Linked DNA regions of Homo sapiens: regions 2 and 3 are each linked to region 1. Evidence: promoter capture Hi-C in 16 types of primary human blood cells and fetal thymus (Javierre and others, 2016). All regions are on one chromosome and are shown on one strand. Each heading gives the region's core, a stretch centred on a gene start or on the middle of the fragment in contact. The rest is flanking DNA. Distances are from core to core; before and after follow the strand shown. Region 1 holds the start of MAN1C1 (mannosidase alpha class 1C member 1). Region 2 overlaps AUNIP (aurora kinase A and ninein interacting protein). Region 3 overlaps MTFR1L (mitochondrial fission regulator 1 like).

The links. The method cuts DNA at HindIII sites, captures the fragments that hold promoters and counts their contacts. A CHiCAGO score of 5 or more calls a contact.
Region 2: a fragment that was not itself captured here is called in contact with the fragment with the promoter of MAN1C1 in region 1 in 1 of 17 cell types (naive CD4 T cells); the score reaches 5.2 in naive CD4 T cells.
Region 3: a contact is called between a fragment that was not itself captured here and the fragment with the promoter of MAN1C1 in region 1, in 4 of 17 cell types (activated CD4 T cells, non-activated CD4 T cells, naive CD4 T cells and 1 more). The highest score is 6.8, in activated CD4 T cells.

The regions. Positions count from the first base shown.
Region 1 is chr1:25,615,369-25,618,112 of GRCh38, forward strand. It overlaps MAN1C1 (mannosidase alpha class 1C member 1), which reads left to right and starts at 1,423. Exons shown (of 12, transcript NM_020379.4): 1 at 1,423-2,744. The coding sequence starts at 2,430. RefSeq lists an enhancer at 689-858 and silencers at 1,049-1,338, 1,359-1,648. The HindIII fragment of the contact is 10,837 bases long and covers 1-2,744 here.
Region 2 is chr1:25,850,508-25,853,251 of GRCh38, forward strand. The region is part of intron 1 of AUNIP (aurora kinase A and ninein interacting protein); the gene reads right to left. Among named protein-coding and RNA genes, the nearest start is that of AUNIP, 7.6 kb to the right of the region's middle. The HindIII fragment of the contact is 2,900 bases long and covers 1-2,744 here.
Region 3 is chr1:25,829,411-25,832,154 of GRCh38, forward strand. It overlaps MTFR1L (mitochondrial fission regulator 1 like), which reads left to right. Exons shown (of 7, transcript NM_001099625.2): 6 at 99-420; 7 at 2,511-2,744. The coding sequence ends at 2,616. It also overlaps a transcript of AUNIP not described here. Among named protein-coding and RNA genes, the nearest start is that of MTFR1L, 11 kb to the left of the region's middle. The HindIII fragment of the contact is 1,626 bases long and covers 541-2,166 here.

The sequences.
Region 1 (2,744 bases), core at 173-2,672:
ACTGAGTCCCAGCCGCCCATCCCCAGCAGGCCTCAGGGAAGAAGCAAGATTTACGAGGCGAGAGCCTGCCTGGCCCGCTTCTTCTGTCGGGAAAGGCTTCCCTGCAGTATTTTCTGTCTCGTCAACACTGCATTTCATTTTAAATTGCAGCTGAAAGTAGATATTTTCCCTCTTGCCTATTACAAACCTCTTAATTTGTCTCTCCCTCTGCTGTTATTTGTCTCTATAAAGTGTTTTGCATGAAAGACCCACACAGCACAATGTTGCTTCACCCTGGGTTAGGTTTAACAGGAAGGGAAGATGCAGAGACTAAGTCCAAGGAGGAAGATGTGAGGGCCTTGGGGTTGAGGACACGCGTGTCTGGGAGTTGATGCCTGGCTGTTTTTGGAGGTTATCTGTTGCCTGAGTGTCTGTGGGTATGCGGGTGCACATGTCCATGTTTGTACTAATTTACATATATGTCTATGCATACTGTGGTATAATCACTTGGGTGTCCATACCCAAATTAAGTGTATGTTTGAGTGCATGTACACACCCACATGCCAGTCTCTGTGTGCATATAGATCTATGCCCAGACGCACACATGTGCATATAAACACACGTAGGCATCAAGGTAGACGTCCGTCACATTATGTGTGTGGTCTTCTGTAGACACGCCCGGGGCTCTCTTCCTTTCGCTGCTTCTCAAGGCTGCGGTCAGCCTCCCTCCGTGCTCCACCCAGGAGCCCTGGCCCCGTTTAGGGTTGTGGGAAAAGGAAGGCACGCCAGTGGTCTGCGAGGGGGCCAGTGGAAACATCACCTCCGCCGACCCGGCCGCGGTCACAGCTCTCTGGCTTGGCTCCAGCCACCAGCAGCACCCCTGCAGCCCGGCGTTAGCGCTGAGAAGCCCGGGGCAGCCGCCAGGGCGCGGGCTGCCAGCTCCCTGACAACCCCGGGCTGGCACTCGGGGGCGAGAGAGGTCACCCAGCGACGGGCACACCCCTCCAGAGCAACACCGTCTCCGGCCCGCTTCCGGGGGCCACCAACCCGAGCCTCGCGGGCGGGCTGGGGGGTGGTCTCTGTCGCTTGGGGTCCAGCGAAGGCTGGGCAGTAACCAATGGACGACTGTGGCCCAACGGGGATCCCTCGGATGCAGCCAATGCCCTCGTTGCGCTCTCCGCCCCCGCCCTCGCCTGCCCCGCGCCGCTGGACCATTGGCGCCCGCTGGATGGGGGGTGCGCGCGACGCCTGCCCTTCGGGGAGGGCGGGGCTTGGAGCGGGCTGCGCTCCCGCCCGCGCTCGGCCTCTGCCCCGCCCCCGGACGCGCGGCCCTCAGCCGGCTGCGGCGCGGCGGCGGCGGGAGGGGGCGCGGGGCGCGCGCGTGGGCGTGGCCGGCGGGCGTGGCCGGCGGGCGGCAGGAGGCGGGGCGGCGGGCGCTGTCGCAGTGAAAGCCCGAGCGGCGGCGGCGGCGGGGACGGCGGTGGAGGCGGCCGGGTGGCTGTGCGCGCGTGTGGGGCGCAGGCTCGGCGGCAGCGGCCGGTCTGGAGCGGCCGCTGCGAGGAAGACAGCTGCAGCGGGGGAGGCGCGGCCAGGGCTGCGCGCTCCGCGGAGCCGGCGGGGCCGGGAACAGGTGATCCCAGTGGGAGCCCCGCGCCCTGCCGAGTTCGAGGGGCGGGAGCCCGCGCTCCCGGGCGCATCTGCAGCCGCCCAGCCGCGGCTCCGGACCCAGGCATCCCTGCGCTGTCTGGGGCCCGGGGGAAGCCCCCTGCCCCCGCAGGCTCGGAAGTGCCTGCTCCTGCTCCCTGGCCACTCCGGCTCCCAGCTCCCGGCGCCCTCTCCGCGGCGGAGAAAGTTGTGGACGTGTCCCGATAGTCGAGCCCGGGCGCTGTCGCGACCGGGCCGGGTGTGCGCGCGCTCGGGGCGGCGCTGACACGCCAGCCCCCCATCGCCTCGGTCCCCTCCGGAAACTGCTTCTGAAGCTGAAACTTTGGGCGCCTACCAGCGCGGGCGGGAGCCTAGGGGGCGGAGGGCGGCTTGGTGCGGGCCTGCGGGCGCCCCTCGGCGCGGACAGCCGGGACGCCGCGGACGGCATGTGACGGTCCCGGCGGCCGCAGCGCGGGAAGGCGCGGGCCCCGGCGCGGCGGGGAGGGCTCGGCCGGAGGGGAGGCTGCGGCGCGCGGCCGGTCGCTGCGGGCCCGGGCCCCAAGCCGTGCCGCTCCGCTCGCCCGGGCCCCGCCGAGGCCGCTGCGCCCCCGCCTCCTCGCGGGAGGACTCGCTCCAAACTCCCTGAACTTCGGGGACAGTCCCCCGAAGCGGCGAAACTCTCAGGGTTGGCAACCCTGCCCAGGGACCCCCATCCCGGGCGGCGCTCCGGACGCCCTCCCCTCACCGCGCCCCCGCAGACACGTGCCTGGACTCCGAGGGCTTCTGGAGCCACCGGCCGGGCCACGATGCTCATGAGGAAAGTGCCCGGCTTCGTCCCGGCCTCCCCGTGGGGGCTGCGGCTGCCGCAGAAGTTCCTCTTCCTCCTCTTCCTCTCGGGCCTGGTCACCCTGTGCTTCGGGGCCCTCTTCCTGCTGCCCCACTCCTCTCGCCTCAAGCGCCTCTTCCTGGCCCCCCGGACCCAGCAGCCTGGTCTGGAAGTGGTGGCTGAAATCGCCGGCCATGCCCCGGCCCGCGAGCAGGAGCCGCCTCCCAACCCGGCCCCCGCCGCGCCGGCCCCGGGCGAGGATGACCCCAGCAGCTGGGCCAGTCCCCGCCGCAGG
Region 2 (2,744 bases), core at 88-2,587, 240 kb after region 1:
ATCAATTGGGGCATATTCCTATCTTAAGTCTTCTGATCAATGAACATGTAATGTCTTTCCATTATTTACATTTTTAATTTCTTTCAATGAGTTTTATAGTTTCCAGTGTATGTCTTGCACTGTTTTGTTAAATTTATGCCTAAGTATTTTATTCTATTTGATTCTATTGTAAATGAAATTATTTCCTTAGTTTCATTTTTTGGATAAAATCCTACCATACGGAAGTACAATTGATTTTTGTATCCTGTCACACTGCTGAACTCATTTTTTCTAATTTTTTTAAGTGGATTCCTTAGGATTTTCTACACATAAGATCATATTTTCTGCAAACAGATAATTTTACTTCTTCCTTTTTAATCTGGGTATCTTTTATTTCTTTTTCTTGCTAAATTTCCCTGCATAAAATCTCTAGTGCAATGGTAAACAGAGTGGCAAGATCTTTGTCTTGTTGCTGATTTAGGAGTGGAAACATTCAGTCTTCTTCCATTAAGTATGATGTTAACTGGGTTTTCATAGATGCCCTTTGTGAGGCTGAGAAAATTCCCTTTTATTCCTGGTCTGTTGAGTGTTTTAATCACAAAATGATGTCAGTCAAAATGCTTTTTCTGTGTCTATTGACATGATTATGTGGTTTTTGTCTTTTATGCTATTAGTATGGTATATTAATTGGTTTTCAAATTTAAACCAACCTTGCATTCCTAAGATAAATTCCTCTTGGTCATGATTTATAATCCTTTTTATGTGTTGCTAAATTTGTTTTGCTTGTATTTTGTTGAGTATTTTTGTATCTGTATTCATAAAGGATACCAGACCATAATTTCCTTTTCTTGTGATATCTTGGTCTAGTTTTAGTATCAGAGTAATACTGGCCTCAAAATGAGTTGGAAAGTGTTCCCTCCTCTTCTATTCTATTTTTTTGAGAGAGTCTGAAGGATTGGTATAATTCTTTAAATGTTTGGTAGAATTCACCAGAGAAACTATCTGGACCTGGACTTTTCTTTGCAGGAAGTTTTAAAATTACTAATTCAATCTCTTCGTTATAGGTCTATAGACCAAAGGAATTGAACTGAAAGTCCAGAAGTAAACCCTTACATTTACAGTCAGTTGATTTTTATCTATTTCTTCTTGAGGCAAGTTTGGTAGTCTGTGACTTCCTAGGAATTTGTCCATTTCATCTAAGTTATCTAAATGTGTTAGCATACAGTTGTTTATAGTATTCTAATTATTTTTATCTCTTTATTTTCTTTTTTAGACAGTCTCACTCTGTCGCCCAGGCTGGAATGCAGTGGCACAATCTCGGCTCACTGCAACCTGTCTCCCGGGTTCAAGTGATTCTCCTGCCTCAGCCTCCCGAGTAGCTGGGACTACAGGCACACACCAACATAACTGGCTAATTTCTGTATTTTTAGTAGAGATAGGGTTTTTTCAGCCACCTCACCTGGCCTCTTGCTGACTGACTGATTGAGACAGGGTGTCACTCTCTTACCCAGGCTGGAGTGCAGTGGCTCAATCACCGCTCAGTGCAGCCTCAACCTCCCTGGGTTCAGTGATCCTTACACCTCAGCCTCCTGAGTAGCTGGAACTACAGGCATGTACCACCACATCAGGCTAATTTTTGTATTTTTTGGTAGAGATAGGGTCTCCCTATGTTGCCCAGGCTGGTCTTGAACTCCTGGGTTCAGGGGATCCTCCCACCTCAGCCTCCTAAAATGCTGGGATTATAGGTGTGAGCCACTGTGCTCTCTTTTATTCTTGATCAGTCTAGCTAAAGGTGTGTTGAGTTTGTTGATCTTTGCAAAGAACCAACTTTTGATGTTGATTGTTTTTCTTTACTATTTATTTTCACTCTAAATTGTATTATTTCCTTCCTTCTGGTCACTATGGGTTTAGATTGCTCTTCTTTTTCTAGTTTCTTAAGGTAGAAGATTAGATTATTTAAGGTTTTTTTTTTTGTTGTTTTTTTTTTTGAGACAGGAGTTTCACTCTTGTTGCCCAGGCTGGAGTTCACTGCAACCTCCGCCTCCTGGGTTCAAGCAGTTCTCCTGCCTCAGCCTCCTGAGTAGCTGGGATTACAGGCGCCTGCCACCACGCACAGCTAATTTTGGTATTTTTAGTAGAGACAGGGTTTCGCCGTGTTGGCCAGGTTGGTCTTAAACTCCTGACCTCGGGTGATCCACCCACCTCAGCCTCCCAAACTGTTGGGATTACAGGTGTGAGCCACTGCGCCTGGCCGAGATTCTTTTTAATAAAAGCATTTACAGCTATACATATCCCTCTAAGCATAGTGTTAGTTGCATCCCATAAATCTTGGTGCATTATATTTTTGTTTTCATTTATCTCAAAGTACTTTCTATTATAATTTTCCTTTTGATTTCTTCTTTGACTCTTGGTTATTTAGAAATGTGCTGTTTAATTTCAACCTATTTGTGGATTTTCTACTTTTTCTTCTGTTACTGATTTCTACTTTCATTCCATTATGGAGAATATACTTTGTATGATTTCCATCTTTCTAAATTTATTGAGATTTGTTTTGTGACCTAGTATTTGTGGAGAATGTTCCATGTGTCATGGAGAAGACTATGTATTCTGCTGTTGTTGGGTAGACTGTTCTATATTTTTGTCTGTTAGGTCTACCTGGTTTATAGTATTGTTCAAATCTTTTTTCCTTGTTGATATCCATGATTGAAAGTGGGTATTAAAGTTTCCAAATATTGTTCACAAAATCTTTCTTAATATTAGCTGTA
Region 3 (2,744 bases), core at 104-2,603, 210 kb after region 1:
CAGGAAATGAATGTTCAGTAGGCAGGGCTGTGGGGAGAAGATATTGCTACTGTGTTCTAGCCCCAATGTCCACCCATGCCTATTGTTTTCTCTTTCAGCTTCGGCTTCATTAACGCCAGATTTCTTATCTCCAGGAAGTTCAAATGTCTCTTCTCCCTTACCTTGTTTTGGATCCTCATTCCACTCTACAACTTCCTTTGTCATTAGTGACATCACCGAGGAGACAGAGGTGGAGGTCCCTGAGCTTCCATCAGTCCCCCTGCTTTGTTCTGCCAGCCCTGAATGTTGCAAACCAGAACACAAAGCTGCCTGCAGTTCGTCTGAAGAGGATGACTGCGTCTCTTTGTCCAAGGCCAGCAGCTTTGCAGACATGATGGGTATCCTGAAGGACTTTCACCGAATGAAACAGAGTCAAGATCTGTAAGTATCTGATGAGGAGCTCTGGTATCTATTTACTCAGAGTTGCCCATGGCCAATTATGTAATGCAACATACTTACATAGTAAGTTCTTAGTAGTACCATATGTTATGTCATTCATAAAGCTTGCTGACTACCTGCTTGCCAGTGCCTGGGGCCCCAGTTTGAGGAAAGAGCAACACTACATTTATTGGGTTTGGTCACCCCAACCAAATATGAGGCTAGTAGGGATTTTACAAGAAGGCTCATCTAATCCAACTTCTGTCCTCAGGTGGCTTTACCACTTCAGTCCTCATACTGCTAGTGACAGTGTCTTCATGGCCCACCCTTCAAAGTGAGGGGTTGCATGACATTATGTTTTGTTATGTTTTCTTATCTCAAATTGGTAGACTTTTTTGGTGGGAGGAGAATTTCATAAAGTTGGAGATTTCTGCTTTAAAATACAGTGGTCCATTGTGCAAACAAACCCTGCACATTCAGTGATTTGAGAATAAGGCTTTTGAGACTCACCAGTAGTTCCGAAACCTAGCTGCCCATCAGAATTGCTCAGATTTGTTAAAAATACACCTTTAACTTACTAAAGTAGAACCCCAAGGAGTGGAGCTCTAGGTTTTTCCGATGGAGTATGAGGGTCTTTGGGGAATACCTACCTTGAAAAACTTCATCTGGCAAAGAAGCCTCAGGGAGTCACCCCATTGCATAGTGTTTCTCCAGTTGTGGGTTGCGGTTTCAACAGCTGCACAGGACTCACCAGAGGAGCTTGGTTTGAATGCAGGTTCCTGGGCATTTGAGAGCCAGACCTTGATGGCCAGCACCCAGCTTGTGCAGCTCTGTTTGTTAATGCAGATGAAAAACTGTTTTGGGGACAGGGAAGCGAGGTCCTCTCCTGAGTTGATAAAGTTCTTGTTAAAGGGAAAGTTACTTGCCCTGGATCCCTTTTTGTCTCCTGGGATCCATTTCCCTCTGAAAAGTAGACCAGGCTAAGTGACTCCCTCATTGCTTCCTGGCAGTTGACCCATTTAGGGAAGTCACTCTTAACCTTCCTTCACTGGCCCTAGTCAGGTTGGTCATACTCACCCATATCTCTTTGGTCTTCCACATTCCCAAATTCAGTTGCTGCTGTTTTTGGTCTTCTCTGAGCTGTCTTCTTCTGAACAAAATGTTTTATAGGTTGACTCTCAAACTTTCTCTTACTTGCCTTTTGGACCAAATTAGATTCAAGACCCTTATTGCTAGCCCCCTCCTCCCACTTGTGTCCTCAGATCAGAAGGAGCTGGGTCAGTGAATAAGAATGGGAAAGTACCCCAGTCAGCAAAGGTTCAGATATGTCACCAACCAAACGCAGTCCCTCTTGTTTTTGCTTTGAAGGTTGAATAGTCAGTCTTGGCTCTTATATTTAGCTTAATCACCAGTAAAACACCTTCATGATGAATGTATATAAGTTCACTAGGATTTCAAGCAACTATTTTCCAGGTATCTAGGACCCTCTTATATGATGTATCAGATAACTTGGGCCTACTTCAGTCTGGAGTTGGTTTTGTTCCCATGAGTTTCTTATGTGAATGTTTTGCTCTAATTCTGGCTCTCATAAAAAATCATCTCCCCTGAAGGGGAGACCCGGTGGTAGGAAATCCCAAGCACACCTTTTCTCCAGAACTATCAAGGGTCAGAATAGCCAAGAGTCATCAGTCACTTCCCCTGCTGACCCTCTGGGGAAATGCTACTAAGAAAACAGGGCCAGAAGGCAGAAGCTTAGCCACCAGAGGCCAACTCTAACAGACTGATGGTCCTTTACTTTGCCCATACTTTATAGCTATTTCAGGAAATAGTAAAGCATTCTAGTTAATAGATGAGATCTGGAACCAGCTAGTTTGGTTCTGAACTCTGGATTCACCGCTTACTTGCTGAGTGACTAGTGACCTTGGGCAACTTGTATAACCTTTCTGTGCTTCAATTTCCTTATCTGTGAAAGGGAATTGTAATGGCACCTACCTCGTAAGATTGTTGTGAGGATTCAACGAGATAATGTATTCAAAAGATATACAGCACTACACAGGAAAGAGTAAGTACTCAAGCTATTATTGTGTCTCTAGGAACCGGAGTTTATTGAAGGAGGAAGACCCTGCTGTGCTTATCTCTGAGGTCCTAAGGAGGAAGTTTGCTCTAAAGGAAGAAGATATCAGTAGAAAAGGAAATTGACAACCCTCAGCTCTGCAAACTCAGTCTCATGCTCCTGGAATACCTTCAATAGCTGCCTTCCTCACCGCAGATGTTTCTGCCTCTTAAGGATAGATCTTCTGCAACAGTCTTGCTGACAAGCTAGAGCT